Regions from separate parts of the Homo sapiens genome. Here regions 1, 2, 3, 4 and 5 are each linked to region 6. The links are contacts of gene promoters, found by promoter capture Hi-C in blood cells and fetal thymus (Javierre and others, 2016). All regions are on one chromosome and are shown on one strand. The core of a region is centred on a gene start or on the middle of the fragment in contact, and the rest is flanking DNA. Distances in the headings are between cores, read along the strand shown.

Region 1 (3,190 bases), core at 163-2,662, 640 kb after region 6:
TCTTCTGAAAATAATGACCCCATATTAACAGGTAAATTTATTGTGTATTCACTAATATGCCACTGTGCATACAACTATATACACATGGCCTCCTATAATTCACCAAACATCCCTATGAGATGTGGATACTCTTATTTATTTATTTATTTATTTATTTATTTATTTATTTATTTATTTGAAACAGAGTCTTGCTCTGTCTCCAGGCTGGAGTGCAGTGGCACGATCTCGGCTCACTGCAATCTCCACCTCCTGGGTTGAAGTGATTCCCCTGCCTCAGCCTCCTGAGTAGCAGGGACTACAGGCACGCGCCACCACACCCTGCTAATTTTTTGTATTTTAGTAGAGACAGGGTTTCACCATGTTGGCCAGGATGTTCTCGATCTCCTGACCTCATGATCCGCCCTCCTCGGCCTCCCAAAGTGCTGGGATTACAAGCGTGAGCCACTGCGCCCGGCCACGATGTAGATACTCTTATACACATTTTAGGTGATGAGAAAACTGAGGCTTAAGGAAAATAGTACCTGGTTCAATATAGCGCAGCTATAAAGTAATGGAATCTGGATTCAAGGTCTTGATAATTATTAGTTCTTTCATTAAATTTTTTTTTAAATTTTATATAATAAAATTGGCTTTCCTGATGTACAGTTCTAAGAATTTTAATACGTGTGTAGATTCATGCAAGCATCACTACAATCAGTATACAAATCAGTACCATCGCTTTACCCATTTGTAATCACACCTTCCTCCCATGCTAACCCCTGGAACTCAGTGATCTGGTCTCTGTCACATAGTCTTTTTCTTTGTGAGAATGTGACATAAATGGAATTTTGTAGTATATAACCTTTTCGAACTGACTTCTTCCACTCAGTATAATGTCTTTGAACTCCATTCTTGCTGCTGCATGGAACGATAGTCTCTTCCTTTACATTGCTGAGTAATTTTCTGTAATACAGATGTATCACATTTATTTATCCATTCATCTGTTGAAAGAAATTTGAGCTGTCTCAGGTTTTGGAGATCATGAATAGAGTCGCTATACGCATTACATGTAAGATTTTGTGTAAAGGTAAGTGTTTGTTTTGTGGGGATAAATACCTAGGAGTCAGGTTGTTGGGTCACATGGTAAGCATTTGTTTAACCTTACAACTGCCAACCTTTTCTAGAATGGTTGTATCTTGACTTCTCACCAGCAAAATATTACAGCTCCAGTGCCTCCACATCCTTATCAGCACTTGGTATTGTCAGTTACTGTTTTCTTTTTTTCTTTTCAGCCTTTCTTTTCCTTTTTTCTTTCTTCCTTTTTTTTTTTTTTTTTTTTTTTTTGAGATGGAGTTTCACTCTTGTTGCCCAAGCTGGAGTGCAATGGTATGATCTCGGCTCATCGCAACCTCCACCTCCCGGGTTCAAGTGATTATCCTGCCTCAGCCTCTCAAGTAGCTGGGATTACAGGCATGTGCCACCATGCCAGGCTAATTTTGTATTTTTAGTAGAGAGAGGGCTTCACCATATTAGTCAGGCCGGTCTTGAACTCCTGACCTCAGGTGATCCGCCCACCTCCGCCTCCTAAAGTGCTGGGATTACAGGCATGAGCCACCGTGCCTGGCCTAATTTCAGCCTTTCTAAAAAGTGTTTAATAGTATCTCATGGTGGTTTAATTTGCATTTTTTCTATTTGAACTTCTTCATGTGCTCATTAAAGAGATGCTAAACATCCCTTTCTGTGCTTATTTGCCATCTATATCCTCTTTAGCAAAGTGTCTATTCAAGATATTTGCCCATTTAAAAAAGTGTGTTTTTCTTACCATTGAGTTTTAAGAATTCTTTATATATTCGGAGTCCTTCATCAGAAATATGATTCACAACTATTTTCATCATCCAGTTCATAGCTTGTATTTTCATTATCTTAATAATGTATTTTACAAAGCAAACTTCTTAAATTGTTATGAAGTCCAGTTTATCAACTTTTCGTTTTAACGGATCATGTTCTTGGTGTCCTGTTTGAGAACTCTCTGACAGGAGGGTCTGGGTCAGAGAGAAGGAGAAAGTGATGGGAAGACACTACGGTACTGGCTTTGGTGATGGAGAAAGGAGCCACGAGCCAAGGAATGCAGGCCTCCCCAGAAGCTGGAAAAGACAGAGAAACAGTTTCTCCCCTAGAATTTCCAGAAGGATCGCAGCCCTGCTGACATCTTGATTTTAGCTTAATGAAACCCATTTAAGACTTACCTTCAGAAGTGTAAGATAATAAATTTGTAATAAGTAAATATTTTTAAGTCACTTAAAAAAATAAATAAAACAAAAAGCCTGTCTGCCTAACTTCAGGTCAAAAACATTTTGGTCCTATCAATTCTTTGAAAGGTTTTATAGGGCTGAGCCTCGTGGCTCATGCCTGTAATCCCAACACTTGGGAGGCCGAGGCAGCAGATTACTTGAGCCCAGCAATTTGAGAGCAACCTGGGCAACATGGTGAAACCCTGGCTCTACAAAACATAAAAATAAAAAATTAGCCGGGCGTGATGAAACCCACCTGTAGTCCCAGCTACTCAGGAGGTTGAGGCAGAAGGATCCCTTGAGCCCAGGAGCCCCAGGCTGTAGTGAGCCGTGTACTTGCCACTGCACTCCAGCCTGGGCGACCCTGTCTCAAAAACAAAAAGAAAAATAAAATAATAATAATAAAAAAAAAAACTACCAAAAACGGCTTTATAGTTTCATGTTTTACATTTAGCTCTATGATTCATTTTGAATTATTTTTATATAAAGTTTGAAGTTTTGGTCAAAGTTCTTGGCTTTGCATATGGATGACCAATTGTTTCATCATCCTTTGTTGAATAGACAAATCCTCTCTTCCATTAATTGTCTTTGGAAGCTTGCCAGAAATCAATTGACCATATTTCTACAGATGTCTCTGTGCTCTTGATTCTGTTCCACTGGTCAATACTGTCCTGAGATTACTGTAGCTTTATAGTAAGTCTTTAAATCTGATAGTGTGTGTGTAATTCTCCAAGTAGTTAATATTCTGAACCAAAAAACTATATGGCACAGATAGATCAGCTAGTGTCCTCTTTTCTTTTACCACCTGGAGGATGTTAATAATATGGTTTTTGATGTACAAAGGGGTGGAAAAGCAATGGGTCTGCCCTACTTTTCAGCTCAAGAGAGAAAAGTCCGGCTGTCGTTTGCAGCTTTTGCTC
Region 2 (2,954 bases), core at 132-2,631, 600 kb after region 6:
CTATGGGGTGGCTAGGCAAAACAATTTGGTTGATAAGGCGCAGATTCTGAACTAACCTGTAAGCCTTGTCTGGTTTTAGGACAGGTAAAATGGGGGAATGGTAAGAAGAGTTTATAGGCTTTAAAAGGCCATGCTGTAACAGGCGAGTGATAACAGGATTTAATCCTTTCAAAGCATGCTGTGGGATGGGATATTGGCATTGATCAGGGTAAGAGTGATTAGGTTTTAATGGGATGGTAAGGGGTGCATGATCAGTCCCTAAGGAGGGAGTAGATGTATCTTATACTTGTGGGTTAAGGTGGGGAGATACAAGGGGAAGATGTGAAGGAGGCTTTGAACTGGGGGAAAAGGCAGCAATGAGGTGTGGCTGTAGCCTAGGAATAGTCAGGGAAGCAGATAATTTAGTTAAAGTGTCTCGGCCTAATAAGGGAACTGGGCAGGTGGGGATAACTAAAAGGAGTGCCTAAAAGAGTATTGTCTAAGTTGGCACCAGAGTTGGGGAGTTTTAAGAGGTTTAGAAGCCTGGCTGTCAATACGCACAACAGTTATGGAAGCAAGGGAAACAGGCCTCTGAAAAGAAGGTAATGTGGGGTGGGTAGCCTCTGTATTGATTAAGAAGGGGATGGACTTACTTTCCACTGTGAGAGTTACTCAAAGCTCGGTGTCCATGATGGTCTAGGGGGCTTCCAAGGCAATCAGGCAGTGTCAGTCTTCAGCCGCTAAGCTGAGAAGATCTGAGAAGGAGTCAGTCAGAGAGCCTTGGGCCAGAGTTCCAGGGAAGCTGGGAGTGGCTGCCAGGTGAGTTGAAGAGTCTGATTTTCAGTGAGGTCCCACACAGACGGAATACGGCTTAGGAGGAATCCTGGGCTGTGGGCATTCCTTGGCCCAGTGGCCAGATTTCCGGCACTTGTAGCAAGCTCCTGGGGGAGGAGGTTCTGAAGGAACCCCTGGCAGCTGTGGTTCAGGTGTTTGGAGTTCTTGTGTGCTGGAGATGTGGCTGGGGTTTGTCTCACAGTGCAGACAAGTAATTGCAATTCATAAATACATTGCTACTTGGCTGCCTTTACTCTATTATTGTACACCTTGAAGGCGAGGTTAATTAAGTCCTGTTGTGGGGTTTGAGGGCCGGAATTTAATTTTTGGAGTTTTATTTAATGTCAGGAGCAGATTGGGTAATAAAGTGTATATTGAGAATAAGACAGCCTTTTGACCTTTTAGGATCTAGGGCTGTAAAGCATCTCAGGGCTGCTGCCGAGCCATGAACTGGGCTGGGTTTTTCATATTTGATGAAAGAGCCTAAATGCTCACTGATTTGGGAGAGGTCTGATAAAGAAAAAGGAGCATTAACCTTGACTATGCCTTTAGCTTCAGCCACCTTTTTAAGAGGAAATTGCTGGGCAGGTGGGGGAGGGCTACTCACAGAATGAAACTGTAAACTGGACCAGGTGTGAGGAGGGGAGGTGATAAAAAGATTATAGGATGGAGGAGCAGAGGCTGAGGAAGAATTGGGACCTAGCTCGGCCTGGTGAGGACCAGCCTGGGGAGGAGGGGAGAGGTCAGATGGGTCTGTAGCAAAGGAATATTAGAAAGACTCAGCAATGCCTGGGGTTGGGACTGAGGGGACAGGTGGGAGGGAAAGAAGGAAGATTTGGGACAAGTTGCACTGGACACAGAGACTAGGGAGGGACTGATGTGTAAAAGAATGCCTGGACATCAGGCACCTCAGACCGTTTGCCCATTTTACAACAAGAATTACTTAGATCTTGCAGGATGGAAAGATTCAAAGTGCCATTTTCTGGCTATTTGGAACCACTGTTGAGTTTGTATTGGGGTCAAGCAGCATTGCAGAAGAAAATAAGGCATTTAGGTTTTAGGTCTGGTGTGAGTTGAACAGGTTTTAAGTTCTTGAGAGCACAGGCTAAGGGAGACAGAGGAATGGAGGGTGGAAGTTTGCCTATAGTGAAGGAGGCAAGCCCAGAGAAAAGAGAGAGTAGAGACACAGAGGGAAGGGGTTCGGGGCTTCTTACTCTCCAGAAAAGCAGGAAAGGGGTCAGGGCATGGAAATAAGGGGTTGAGCCACAGAGATAAGAGGTCAGGGCACGGAAATAAGGGATCGGAGCGCAGAGATAAGAGGTCGGGGCACGGAAATAAGGGATGGGGCACAGAGATAAGAGGTCAGGGCACGGAAATAAGGGATTGGGGATTCTTGCCCCCTAGAAAAGCAGGACTTGCCGCTAAGGGTGAAGGAGAAGGGGTTGAGGGGTTCTTGCCCCTCCCCAAGAAAAGCGGAGAAGGGATAGAGACACGGAGAGAAGGGGTTGGGGTACTTGCCCCTCCCCCAGAAAAGCAGGACTTGCCGCTAAGGGTGAAGGACCAAGGCAGGCATCCCTGCATGGTCTGACACCTCTGAAATGTGGGTGAATAATCAGAGAGGCGTCCCTGCAATGATTAAACACCAAAGGAAGGCTGCCTTCCCAGTCCATGACTGGCGCTGGAGTTTTGGGTCCACGGATAAAACGTGTCTCCTTTGTCTCTACCAGAAAATGAAAGGAATTGAAATTAAGAGAAGGGAGAGATTGAAGTGTGGCGCCAAGATTGAAAGGAGAAAGAGGTTGAGGGATAGTGAGGGAGGTTGGAGAACAGAGTAAAAAGAGGCTGCTTACCGGATTTGAAATTGGTGAGATGTTTCTTGGTCTGGTCAGTCTGACGACCTGAGGTCGTAGGTGGATCTTTCTCACGGAGCAAAGAACAGGAGGACAGAGGATTGATCTCCCAAGGCAGGTCCCCTGATCCGAGTCACGGCACCGAATTTCATGCATGTCCGTGTGAAGAGACCACCAAACAGGCTTTGTGTGAGCAACAAACCTTTTAATCACCCAGGTGCAGGCAGGCTGAGTCTGAAAAGAGAGTCAGTGAAGGGAGATAAGAGTGGGGCCATTTTTACAGGATTTGGG
Region 3 (3,160 bases), core at 192-2,691, 550 kb before region 6:
CAAAACTCATAAAGTTAGTTGAACATGAAAACTATCACATTTGTGAAAAACAAAATAAGAAACAAATAGTGTTCCTTAAATAACATGGCTATCATTAAGTTATACTTGGACTTCTAAGAAAAAAATGTATTGATCTCTGCTTGACTAAAGACAAATTAGGATTGGGAACATATCTGAACATAGAAAGAATAGCTGCAGTAAAGGCTTCTTATTAATTTAGATTGCAATTATTTACTTGGGCTGCACTCTGGCCCCTCTGATTATTTTAAGGAAGATTTATAGTACAAATAATATTGCCAGAGCCACATTTAACCTGCTTAATAAGAGAACACATTCTTTAAATGACTTTAATGCATTAGTTTTATGAAAGCTATGAATTCAGACTCACTACAAGTATTTGCAAAGTTACTACTTTTCCTAACAGATATTTAAAACTCAGATTTTCCACTAATTCAGATTGACATTCTTCTTTAGCCAGACTAGTCCAGTTAGCCTATTTAATTCAGTAAATGTACTAGTGGAAAAACTCTAGCTAGTTGGGGAAATATATATATTTTTTTTCTTTATTTTTTCCCCCATAGAGATGTCGGTCTCACTATGTTGCCCAGACTGGTCTTGAACCCCTGGTGCAAGCAATCTTCTGTCTTTGCCTCTGAAAGTGCTGGGATTACAGGTGTGAGCCACTGCACCTGGCCCAGTTGGGGAAGTATATTTCTTAAATAGAGAGAGTCCCGAGAACCAACAGATCACATTCTCTTTTCAGAAAAGAAGTGAGCAAGTGAAAAGGATTGGGGGAAATTTTTTTAGGATGAAGAGAGAAAGTGGTATTTTTAACTCTTGCTGCTCGATATCATAGCAAAGGATAAGGTCTTGGTAGCACATATGTGAGCAAATCCTGGCAGATGCAGTCTGCCTTCGATGTACTTTGCAGTAGCTATGATTCTCACTAACATGGCAGCTCTCCAGGAAACTGATACGTAGGCTATTTTCTGGTGAACTACGATGCCTGTCCTTCAGGTCTCAGTCCCCATATCTTTAACTGCAGATGAAAATACTTGTCTGTCGCCGGGCGCGGTGGCTCACGCCTGTAATCCCAGCACTTTGGGAGGCCAATGTGGGTGGATCATGAGGTCAGGAGATTGAGACCATCCTGGCTAACACGGTGAAACCCTGTCATTACTAAAAATACAAAAAAAAAAAAAAATTAGCCGGGTGCCTGTAGTCCCAGCTCCTCAGGAGGCTGAGGCAGGAGAATGGTGTGAACCCGGAAGGCAGAGCTTGCAGTGAGCCAAGATAGTGCCACTGCACTCCAGCCTGGGCGACAGAGTGAGACTCCGTCTCAAAAAAAAACAAAAAAACAAAAAACTTGTCTGTAACAATCCTGCCAGGGCCTTGGCTGTAAGGTCTGAAATACGCCTGATATACATTGCTAGAGCCACAGAGCATGTGTCAAACTGTAAAGGCACACAGAAGCACACTGAGGACAGGGAATCACAGACTGGAGTTGAAAGCACTTCAGAGGCTTCCTGGCCTAACGTTCTCATTGTGCTGGCACAGAGATCGAAGCCCAGAGACGTAAGGGGACTTGGCCAGCATCTCACAGGTAGCAGTCCAACTGGATCAGGCCTCAGATTTCCTGACTCGCAGTCCAGTTTCTTGACCACATCTAGGTAATTATGCTCATGCAGAAGATGTTAGTATTGTAAAATAATTACCCTTGAAATTAACCATTTGAGAATCACCTTTCTTAGGTGGAATTTGACTAATTATTTACTATGCCAGTAATTTCTATGAATGATCACAAGGATTAATCATATTTGGAGAACCAAAAAAGTTACCTGTTGTGACGTGCAATCTTTTTTTGTACCATCACTGTGCATGACTCTTTCCTTATGGCACTTAACACAGCAATTTGTTGTTGTTCTTGGTTTTTTTTTTTTTTTTTTTTTTTTTTTGAGATGGAGTCTCGCTCTGTCACCCAGGCTGGAGTGCAGTGGCACAATCTTGGCTCACTGCAAGCTCCGCCTCCCAGGTTCACGCCATTCTCCTGCCTTAGCCTCCCCAGCAGCTGGGACTGCAGGCGCATGCCGCCAAGCCCGGCTAATTTTTGTATTTTTAGTAGAAACGGGGTTTCACCATGTTAGCCAAGATGGTCTCGATCTCCTGACCTTGTGATCCACCCGCCTTGGCCTCCCAAAGTGCTGGGATTACAGGCGTGAGCCACCGCGCCCAGCAGTGCTGTTCTTGTGTGGAAGCTGTCTTGTCTACCAGATAGCTTTATAGTTACAGAGACCATGCCTTTCTTCTCCCTTTATTCCCATAGTGCCTGGTTCAATAATTATCAAATGAATGCATGAAATTCAGAAACTAAGGAAGAAGCAGTGGTCCTTTCACCTAGGGCCTGGTGCAATTACAAGCAGATCCTGCCATCGCTGGGCAAAGGCCGGGACTGGCTTTCTTGTCTGGTGAACGTCCCTCACTGTGGTTAAGAATCCGAAGAGCTGACAGCACTATTCTAAATGCTTTAAGTGCATGTACTCATTTCATCTTCTCAACCCTGTGAAGCACTACCCTGACGAGCCCTAAGTTACAAATGAGATACAGAGTTACAAAATTGAGGCAGGGAGTTCAGTAATTTCCCTCGGGCTCAAAACCTAAGCCAAGCCGCCAGGAGCCAGACCACGTGCTTCTAACCCCTGGGCTGTATTGCATTTAAGCCAACCACTGCGGCAGGGCTTATCCCTCTTTTTCTTTTTTTGACCTCTAAGCCAATTTGTATATTTGAAAACTTAGATACCACACCATGGTAAACATACTGACATCTCCCCAGACTGGACGTATATATGTTCATCTCCGCGTTTTCCCTCACCCTTCTGCTTCTAACCCTTCCTGTTGAACTCATCTTTCACCTCTCGGCTTCAAGTGCCAACTCTGAAAAACCTCCCCGGCCTGGTTTCCTCTCATCAGAATTAATCTCTCTGTTCTAGGTGCCCTTTGTTTAAACTTCAGTTTTGGCACTTAGCACATCAAACCTGGGATGAGTCACGAGGGTGTTTGTGGATCTCCCCGGCTACACAGGGAGCTCGGTGCGGCGGAGGCTGGTGGGAATTGGGCCTGCTGAGCACTCAGTAGGCGCTCAGGGTTTTCAGAAATGAGGATT
Region 4 (3,136 bases), core at 127-2,626, 620 kb after region 6:
ATTAGGGCTATTGGCCTCTAGTTGTTTGTTTTTGTTGTTGTTGTTGTTTTTGAATGATTTTGGAAGTATTCCCTCCTCCTTCAATTTTCAGCACAGGTTGAGTAAGATATTCTGTAAATGTTTGGGCGAATTCAGCAGTGAAGCCATCAGGTTCTGGGCTTTTCCTTGCTGGGAGACTTTATTATGGCTTCAATCTCATGACTTCTTATTGGTCTATTCAGGTTTTGGATTTATTCATGGTTCAATCTTGGTAGACTGTATGTGTGTAGAAATGTATCCATTTCTTTTAGGTTTTCCAATTTATTGGCATATAGTTGCTCATAGTATCCTGTAATAATCCTTTGGATTTCTGTAGTAGCAGTTGTAATGTCTCTTTTTTCATCTCTGATTTTATTCACTTGGGTTTTTTCTTTCTTTTTTTTTTTTCTTAGTTAGTCTGGCTAAGGATTTGTCCATTTTATCTTTTTGAAAACTTGACTTTTTATTTTGTTTATCTTTGGTATTTTTTTAATTTCAATTTTATTTATATTTGGGCTGATTTTTATTATTTCTTTTCTTCTGCTAATTTTGGGTTGGGTTTGCTCTTGCTTTTTTACTTCCTTAAGATGCATCATGGGGTTATTGTTTGAAATTTATCTTTTCTTTTCTTTCTTTCTTTTTTTTTTTTTGGAGACAGAGTCTCACTCTGTCTCCCAGGCTGGAGTGCAGTGGTGCAATCTCGGCTCACTGCAACTTCTGCCTCCCAGATCCAAGTGATACTCCTGCCTCAGCCTCCTGAGTAAGTGGGACTACAGGCACCCACCACCACGCCTGACTAATTTTTTGTATTTTTAGTAGAGACAGGTTTTCACCGTGTTAGCCAGGATGGTCTCGATCTCCTGACCTCATGATCCGCCCACCTCGGCCTTTCAAAGTGCTGGGATTACAGGCATGAGCCACTGCAACTGGCCCTATTTGAAATTTTTGTACTTTCTTGTTGTAGGTACTTATTGCTATAAACTTTCCTCTTATTGCTGCTTTTGCAGTACCCCATAGGTTTTGGGATGTTCTGAGTCCATTTTCCTTCATTCCAAGAAAATTTTAAATTTCCTTCTTAATTTCTTCATTGACCCACTGGGCATTCAGAAGCATATTGTTTAATTTCCAGGTGTTTGTATAGCTTCGAAAATTCCTCTTTGTATGGATTTTTAGTTTTATTCCATTGTGGTCAGAGAAGATATTTTATATAATTTAAATTTTTGAATATTTTACAACTTGTTTTGTGGCCTAACAGATGGTCCATCCTTGAGAATGATCCATGTACTGAGGAGAAGTTTGTGTATTCTGTAGCCATTGAATAAAAAGTTCCATAAATATCTATTAGGTTCATTTGGTCTTATAGTGCAGATTAAGTCCCATGTTTCTCTGTTGATTTTCTGTCTGGATGCTCTGTCCAACGCTGAAAGTGGGAGGTTGAAGTCTCCAGCTAGAATTGTATTGGAATCTCTCCCTAGGTCTGATAATATTTAGTTTATATATTTGGGTGCTCCAGTGTTGGGTGCATGTATATTTATAATTGTTTTATCTTCTTACTGAATTGACCCCTTTATCACTATATAATTACCTTGTCTCTTTTTACAGCTTTTGTCTTGAAATCTATTTTGTCTGATATAAATATAGCTACTTCTGCTCTTCTTTGGTTTCCATTTGCAGGGAATATCTTTTTCCATCCCTTTATGTTGAGTCTGCATGTGTCTTTATAGGTGAAATATGTTTATTGTAGGCAACAGATTGTTGGGTTTTGTTTTTTATCCATTCAGCCACTCCTGGGTTTTGATTGGAGAGTTTAATCTATTTACTTTCAATGTCATTATTTATGAGTGAGGACTTAATCCTGCCATTTTGTTATTTGATTTCTTGTTGTTTTGTGGCCTTCCTTCCTTCATTCTTTCCTTCCTTTTTGGGAAGGTAATATTTTCTGATAATATAGTACATTTTAATTTCTTTTATTTTTTGTGTATCTGTTGTAGGTTTTTTTATTTGAGGTTCTCATGAGGCTTGCAAATAACATCTTATAACTCATGGTTTTAAACTGATTTCAACTTGGCCAGGTGTGGTGGCTGATGCCTTTAATCCCAGCGCTTTGGGAGGCTGAGGTCAGAGAATCAGTTGAGGTCAAGACCAGACTGGCCAACATGGTGAAACTTTTTTGTTGTAGGTACTTATTGCTATAAACTTCCCTCTTATTAGCTGGGTGTGGTGGTGCACACCTGTAATCCCAGCTACTTGGGAGGCTGAGGAAGGAGAATTGCTTGAACCCAAGAGGCAAAGGCTGAGGTGAGCTGAGATCGCACCACTGCACTCCAGCCTGGGCAACAGAGCATGACTCCATCTCAAAAAATAAATAAATAAATAAATAAATAAATAAATAAAATAAGTAAACTGATGGCAACTTAGCACTGATTGAAAAAAAAATAACAAGCAAGCCAAGAGAAAACTAATAAAAACTCTACACTTTTTAACTTCATCCTCCTACTTTTTAACTTTTTGTGTTTTCTATTTATATCTTACTATGCTGTCTATGTCTTGAAAACTTGTTGTAGTTATTATTTTTGATAGGTTTATCTTTTAGTGTTTCTACTCAAGGTATGAGTAGTTTATATACCACAATCACAGTGTTATAATATTTACATATTTACATATTTACATACTTACACAATTATATATTATAATATGTAACTGTGTTTTTCTGTATACTTACTATTGCCAGAGAGTTTTGTACCTTCAAAGGATTTCTTATTGCTCATTAATGTCCTTTCCTTTCACATTAAAGAACTCCCTTTAGCATTTATTGGAGGGCAAGTCTGGTGTTAATGAAATCCCTCAGCTTTTGTTTGTCTGGGAAAGTCTTTATTTCTCCTTCATGTTTGAAGGATATTTTCAATTGTTACACTAGTCTAAGATACAAGTTTTTTCCTTCAACACTTCAAATATGTCATGCCACTCTCTCCTGGCCTATAAGATTTCCATTGAGAAGTCTGCTGCCAGACATGTCAGAGCTCCTTTGCATGTCATTTGTTTCTTCCCTCTCACTGCTCTCAGCATTCTTTCTTTGTCCTTGACCTTTGGGAGTTTGATGATTATTATTATTACTTTT
Region 5 (3,154 bases), core at 117-2,616, 550 kb after region 6:
TGTGTGTGTGTGTGTAAGAACCTGGACAGCCAGGTGCAGTGGCTCACGCCTGTAATCCCAGCGCTTTGGGAGGCCGAGGCAGGTGGATCACTTGAGGTCAAGAGTTTGAGACCAGCCTGGCCAACATGGTGAAACCCTGTCTCTACTAAAAATACAAAAATTAGCTGGGCATGGTGGTGGACGCCTGTAATCCCAACTACTCAGGAGGCTGAGGCAGGAGAATCACTTGAACCTGGGAGGTGGAGGTTGCGGTGAGCCAAGATTGTGCCACTGCACTCCAGCCTGGGCAACAAAGTGAGACTCTGTCACACACACACCCACACAAAAAGAACCTAGACAATATTCCATAATGCAATGCAATGCCTCGTGTACACAGTCCATGTGGGCTTTCTGATATTTATCTGTCCTTTTGAAGATTTTTTAATTAAAAAAACTCTATAGAATTTATTCAAGCAGCATTATCTTAGGACAACTACTTACTACATTTTCTAACAGTTGTTATTTCCCCTTTGTTAAAGAGTCAGCTGTAAAATAATGCTTTCTTTGCAGAAAGCTTGTGCCGCTGGACAGATTAGATAACTCGGGGGATTTGCAGCAGGCAGTGGAGACTTTAACCCGCAGGTCACCCCTTTCATCTCTCACCCAGATTAGGCCTGACAGCTGTTCACGATCCTCCTTGGAAGGGAATGCCCAGCCGCTTGCCTCAAGACAATTGGCATCAAACTATGGAACCCTTTTGAAAGTCTTGAAATATATTTTGTCATTCCTTTTAGTCCAGGTGTCTGTCATTTCACAAATCACAAGAGTACCACAAAAACCTGGATGAAGTTTAGTTAGCACAGAGCAAAGAGGCTCTGACCGCTGAAATAGATATTGATGACTGGCCCCAAAGCTCCATCCACAAACCACAGGCAAAAAACAGTTTCACCACATATAATCCAGGGTCTGTGATAGGTGCTGAACAGATGTTGCTTCTTGAAGAACAGTCTCTCTGGCTACTTTTCTAGAGAGTTCTTTATTCTACCCCATCTTCGCTTCCCCAGAGTGAGGTCCAAAGCAGTTGCAACATATCTTGCAGGTAGAAGCTGGTTGAGTTCAACTCACTCACAACTAGAAAACTGAATTCGTCTCAGAAAACATCCATTTATATTGTGATTGTTGGGATGGTTGGTTTTATTACAGGAAGGGAGAGTGGAAAATAATATATTATAAATGGGATTTTTAATATTATTGATCTATAGCAATAATCCCCAACTTCTTCAACAAAAGAACACCTCATATATGCAGAACCATGCCACATCCCACAACACACACATACATAACTGTGGCCATATTTTTTACATGCCTGGAATGAAAAAATATTTATACTTCAAGATCTCTGGAACTCTTGTAATAATTTCTTGTCTCCCTAATTCTCCTTTCACTCCTCCAGATGAGGAGCCTCTGCCTAGAGGAGTGGTCCATGCATGCATTCTCACAGGTAGGAATACCTATTGAAATACCCAGTAGAGTCTCGTAAAGGAGTCTCCATGCTTCATCTTCATAGATGGACAACAATAAGAACGTGCTGTGGAGTAAAAAACTCAGTGACAATTTTCATCCCAGGTTGCTACTTATTCATTTTTTTTGTATGAAACTTACATTTCTTTTTTTAACTTTTAAGTTCAGGAGTACATGTGCAGGTTTGTTATTTATGTAAACTTATGTCACAGGGATTTGTTGTACAGATTATTTTGTCACCCAGGTGTTAAGCCTAATACTCATTAGTTATTTTTCCTGATCCTCTCCTTCCTCCTACCCTCCACCCTCAGGTAGGCCCCTGTGCCTGCTGTTCCTCTCTATGTGTCCATGTGTTCTCATCATTTAGCTCCTGCTTATAAGTGAGAATGTGAAATATTTAATTTTCTGTTCCTGCATTAGTTTGCTAAGGATAATGGCCTCCGTTGTATGGCTGCATAGTATTCCATGGTGTATACGTACTGCATTTTCTTTATCCAGTCTACCACTCATGGACATTTAGGTTGATTCCATGTGTTTGCTGTAGTGAATAGTGCTGCAAGAACATACATGTGCATGTGTCTTTATGATGGCATGACCTACATTCCTTTGGGTATATACCCAGTCACTGTATATTTATATATATTTTTATCCCAAATCTTTCAATTTAAGACTAAGCTTAAATGATCTCCAAGTCACTATATATTTATATATATTTTATCCCAAATATTTCAATTTAAGACTAAGCTTAAACGATCTCCATGAAACATATTACTGCTGTTATTGTTATTATTTCTTCTACTTTCATATGTGTCATTAATAAATTGTTGGGAATAAAGAGCATTGTTAGATTTTTCTTTGTTTATTAAAGGAAGATATTTTAATATTTATTGTTTTATTTATTTTTGAGACAGGGTCTCACTCTGTTGCCCAGGCTGGAGTGCAGTGGTAAGATCATGGCTTACTGCAGCCTCAACCACCCAGGCTCAAGTGATCCTCCCACTTTAGCCTCCTAAGTAACTGGGACTACAGGTTTACACCACCATGCCTGGCTAATTTTTTTTATTTTTTGTACAGACAGCGTTTTGCCATGTTACCCAGGTTGGTCTCAAACTTCTGCACTCAAGTGATTATCCAACCTTGGCCTCCCAAAGTGCTGGGATTACAGGTGTGAGCTACCACACCCAGGCTGAAGGAAGGTATTTTAAAGAATTGTGGTATAATGGAGAGATTGGATTAATACTCAGAAGACCTATTCTGATTATTAGGCTACTTGGCCACATGACTTAACTCTTCTGAGCCTCAATTTTGTTATGTATGAATTCAAAAACATTGTTCCCATTCTTGCCTCATAGCATTGTTACAGAGATCAAATATGTTAATATATTTGAAAAAACTTTAAGCTTTTTAAAAAGTATTTTGTGCTACTTATAATCTATTCTTTTCTAACTAAAGGAGTAATGGTAGTTTATTATGGAAAATTGGAAAATGCAATACAGTAGAAAGTAAATTAATGTGACTCATAATCTCACAATTTAGAAATATCAACTGTTAAAATTTTGACATGTAAACTTCCACACTATTTGTCTTCTGTATACATGTGTATGTGTTTGAAAAATCAAAGTCACATTATAAACATGGCTTATGACATACATTT
Region 6 (3,361 bases), core at 445-2,944:
CAGATATGTTTCCTCACTAAATATTGAGAAGTAGAAATGCAAGGGTTGTAAATAACTTACTTTAATACCAAGGGCTGTGAACTTACTCAAAGACTAAAATTCCATGAGATTAAAAATACCTATGCAATAATTCTAACTGACTAACACTGTTAACTATTGTTATCTCATCTAGTTCTGTATTTTGGACTCCAGTTAACCTATATAAAACAAATTGGGCCGGGCGCGGTGGCTCACGGTTGTAATCCCAGCACTTTGGGAAGTCGAGGAGGGTGGATCACATGAGGTCAGGAGTTCGAGACCAGCCTGGCCAAAATGGTGAAACCCCCTCTCTACTAAAAATACAAAAATTAGCTAGGCGTGCTGGCGCGTGCCTGTAATTCCAGCTACTCCGGAGGCGGAGACAGGAGAATTGCTTGAACCTGGGAGGCGGAGGTTGCAGTGAGCCGAGATAGCGCTACTGCACTCCAGCCTGGACGACAGAGCAAGACTCCGTCTCAAAACAAAACAAAAACAAACTAACGAATGCATTCCATTCCTTATAAACACGATAAATTATCTATACCACTTAAAAAGGTCTGGAAAAAATTCAAAACAACTGCTTAGAAGTTAATTCAGGAAAACCACGTTTTTCCAATTTTGCTTGATGCATCTTACTTCCTATCAAATGCCTGCAACAATGAGCTAAGCTTGAAGGTATCTAATGATACTAGAACAAAATTTCCTATAAAATCCAATTTAATCTCATTACAATGCATATAGTAACGCACAGAAATGAAAAGATTTCTATGATTTTCTATTTAGAATTAAACCACCCCAGGGCAACAATGATTGAGATTAGAAAGGTGGTGCCACGTTCACGACCTTGCATCAAAAAGTAAGTCTCCCTCCCGAAACACAGAAAAAAGCTGCTATTGAAAGGGCATCTCGAATCACCGTCTCTGACACCGTGTGCGTCATTGCTCTAGTTCTGACTTCTATCAGCGGGCTAGGGAAAGAGACGGACGCCCCTTTCCCCGATAGAAGAGCCCAGGTACCTGAAGATGCAATGTACACATGGCGTGGAAATGGAAGAAAAAGAAGACACCGAGAGTTAGGAGAAATGTGGAGAGAGGTGACTCATGGACAGAGCCAAACCTGGCAGGGAGAGGACAGAAAAAAGGCAAAAGAGGCAACCAGAGACAGACAGAACACTGAAGACACAAGGGTGTAAAGGGCAGAGACAAAAGGACAATAGAGACGGGCCAAGATTGAGAGGCGTCCAGAATTTTCGGGTTGGGTAGGGCCAGAGAAAAGGGCCAGTATTGAAGCCGGCTCCGAACGTAAGCCCAGCCAGGGCTCCTGTCATTCTGGGTCCTCAAGAACATCTGGGAATTCTCCAACTGCCGTCGGCCTGGCCTGAGAGTCACCTGCACATTTTTGGAGATAGAGATAAGACAGCCCCACTCTCAAGAGGCCCCAGAATTAACGGGGCCAGATTAGAGCCTGCACTTACCAGGCCACAGCGGCCCGACGTAGTCGCCACATCCCGCCGGCGGGGAGGTCACGCAGGCGCCGAGACGGCCACGCGGGAGCCCCCGTGTGAGCCCCAGCCCGGCTCCCGGTCCAGGAATGACCCAGGAAGTGGCCCTCAGCAGCAAGGGCACAGAGCCGCGGCCGAGGCCCTCCCAATGGCGCATGGACTTCCGCAAGAGCCTGACAGGCACCCGTACTCAGTCCGTCACGGAAACAACCACTTCACCCTTTCTAGGCGGGCAGCACGAACGGTCCGCGGAGGACCAGCGCATGCGCACAGTGCGTCGGGAACGGACTGGAGCAATCCATCGCCTCTCACGGGGCCCCGCCCTCTTGCTTCCGATTTGGAATTCGGAATTAGCCTTGCAGGTTAGAGATTTGGCCAGGGGAGGGAGCGAGAGTTGGGCGGGAACGGGAAGGGCTAAAGGCGTGGAATGAGAATTGATGAATGCTCACCGGGAGCCATGAATTTATTAAGAGTTGGATATTGAGGGAGCACGAAGGAAACTAGAGAGTGCAAGGTGAAATACAGTAATAGCGTACTACAAACTAATGCTTGCACATTTGCCTACCTTCTTTCTTGGGCATCTTTGTTTGAAAGCACTTTCACATCGTTAGGGCAATCATGGGAGGTGAGAAGCAGGACGAAGAGTCATGGATAGGCTAAGTCCCTTAGAATCTCTGAGGATCAGATGGGAAAGGGACTTAAATCAGTTAGGCCAGTAACGGGTTTGGAATAAGCTTGTGTGGTTTATAAAAGGCGTCAAAATGATTTGTTCAACTGTTTCTTCCGGATTTTAAGCCCACCAGTTTGTTGAAATGGTCCTCGTCAAGGCCTCCACCAGCTCCCTATTGTTTGTGGCCAGTGAGCCTGCCACAGCATTCAGTTCAGATGCCTAGTGCTGAGCACTCCTTCAACTACTTTTTCTTTTGGCTCTCTGGCCATCACATTCTCCTTTTTCCCTGGAACTGCTGCTCCCAGGCTTCTTTGATGGCTCCCCTCCCAAATTTCTCAATGTTGGACAGGCCCAGATCTCAGCCATCTTGAGCTCCTCTCCTCCATCACTTTAAATACTCCTTTCCCCTTCCAACACAAACCTTTTATGTTTTGTAAGGAAACCAGGGCCCGTAAAAGGGATGTGGCCTGTGAACGGTTATGAAGCCAATTTTTAGGGACTAAAATAAAAGGGTCCTGTGCATCCTCTTTACTTCAGGGACCTTTCACCTCCTCCCCACTACCCGCCCCCCACCCATGCCACACACATACACAAATACACAGAGCATAAAGACAATTCCTTTTCCCTTAATTGTCAGAATCATAAGTCTGGACCCATGCACTCACAATACCACCAAGAGTAGACCTAGCCATTGATAGTAAACTTCCCAAATGCAGGACTCTTAGAATTTTCTTTATTTATTGTGGTGACTGTTTCAATGGCAGGTCCAGAGAGCAATTTGCTGTACCAACCTGTGCAAACTGTAGATCTTCCTGGGATTGTAGGGTTGTACAAAAAGTGTCTTTGTAATCGTTACTTCCTTGTTATTTTAGAAAATAAAATAAGAGAAACCAAGAGACTTTAACAACAACAACAAAAAAGAAAAATTAGGGATAAAAGACTTTAACCATAAAAAAAGGAGAAACTAACCACCATCACCATTTATATATGGTTATCATATGTTTTATGAAGCCCTTGTTTTGCAGTTCTACTTCTAGGCATTTATCCTGTGGAATCATTCCCATGTATGCAAAGATGTATGCATGATGATGTTTATTTCTGCACTGTATGAAATGGGAAAAGATTGGAATCAGTATAAATGTCCATGTATAGGAACTAGACACATAAATTAC

What was found. Contacts are between HindIII fragments. The CHiCAGO score rates a contact against its expected background, and 5 or more counts as called.
Region 1: a fragment that was not itself captured here is called in contact with the fragment with the promoter of OPA1 in region 6 in 4 of 17 cell types (M0 macrophages, M1 macrophages, M2 macrophages and 1 more); the score reaches 10.6 in M0 macrophages.
Region 2: a contact is called between a fragment that was not itself captured here and the fragment with the promoter of OPA1 in region 6, in 2 of 17 cell types (M0 macrophages and M1 macrophages). The highest score is 6.0, in M0 macrophages.
Region 3: a contact is called between a fragment that was not itself captured here and the fragment with the promoter of OPA1 in region 6, in 3 of 17 cell types (fetal thymus, erythroblasts and non-activated CD4 T cells). The highest score is 9.1, in fetal thymus.
Region 4: a contact is called between a fragment that was not itself captured here and the fragment with the promoter of OPA1 in region 6, in 1 of 17 cell types (M0 macrophages). The highest score is 5.1, in M0 macrophages.
Region 5: a contact is called between a fragment that was not itself captured here and the fragment with the promoter of OPA1 in region 6, in 4 of 17 cell types (M1 macrophages, M0 macrophages, endothelial precursors and 1 more). The highest score is 7.2, in M1 macrophages.

What each region holds. Positions count from the first base shown.
Region 1 is chr3:192,947,265-192,950,454 of GRCh38, reverse strand. No RefSeq gene overlaps it. Among named protein-coding and RNA genes, the nearest start is that of MB21D2, 31 kb to the right of the region's middle. The HindIII fragment of the contact is 2,911 bases long and covers 1-2,867 here.
Region 2 is chr3:192,995,914-192,998,867 of GRCh38, reverse strand. No RefSeq gene overlaps it. Among named protein-coding and RNA genes, the nearest start is that of MB21D2, 80 kb to the right of the region's middle. The HindIII fragment of the contact is 7,691 bases long and covers 1-2,954 here.
Region 3 is chr3:194,141,987-194,145,146 of GRCh38, reverse strand. No RefSeq gene overlaps it. Among named protein-coding and RNA genes, the nearest start is that of HES1, 7.4 kb to the right of the region's middle. The HindIII fragment of the contact is 7,774 bases long and covers 1-3,160 here.
Region 4 is chr3:192,973,793-192,976,928 of GRCh38, reverse strand. No RefSeq gene overlaps it. Among named protein-coding and RNA genes, the nearest start is that of MB21D2, 58 kb to the right of the region's middle. The HindIII fragment of the contact is 9,771 bases long and covers 1-3,136 here.
Region 5 is chr3:193,044,044-193,047,197 of GRCh38, reverse strand. No RefSeq gene overlaps it. Among named protein-coding and RNA genes, the nearest start is that of MB21D2, 130 kb to the right of the region's middle. The HindIII fragment of the contact is 1,622 bases long and covers 556-2,177 here.
Region 6 is chr3:193,591,541-193,594,901 of GRCh38, reverse strand. OPA1 (OPA1 mitochondrial dynamin like GTPase) reads right to left here and starts at 1,694. Exons shown (of 31, transcript NM_130837.3): 1 at 1,493-1,694. The coding sequence starts at 1,524. It also overlaps a transcript of ATP13A4 not described here. RefSeq lists enhancers at 1,136-1,215, 729-1,380, 1,816-1,865, 1,916-1,985, 1,381-2,032 and a silencer at 1,446-1,595. The HindIII fragment of the contact is 1,567 bases long and covers 689-2,255 here.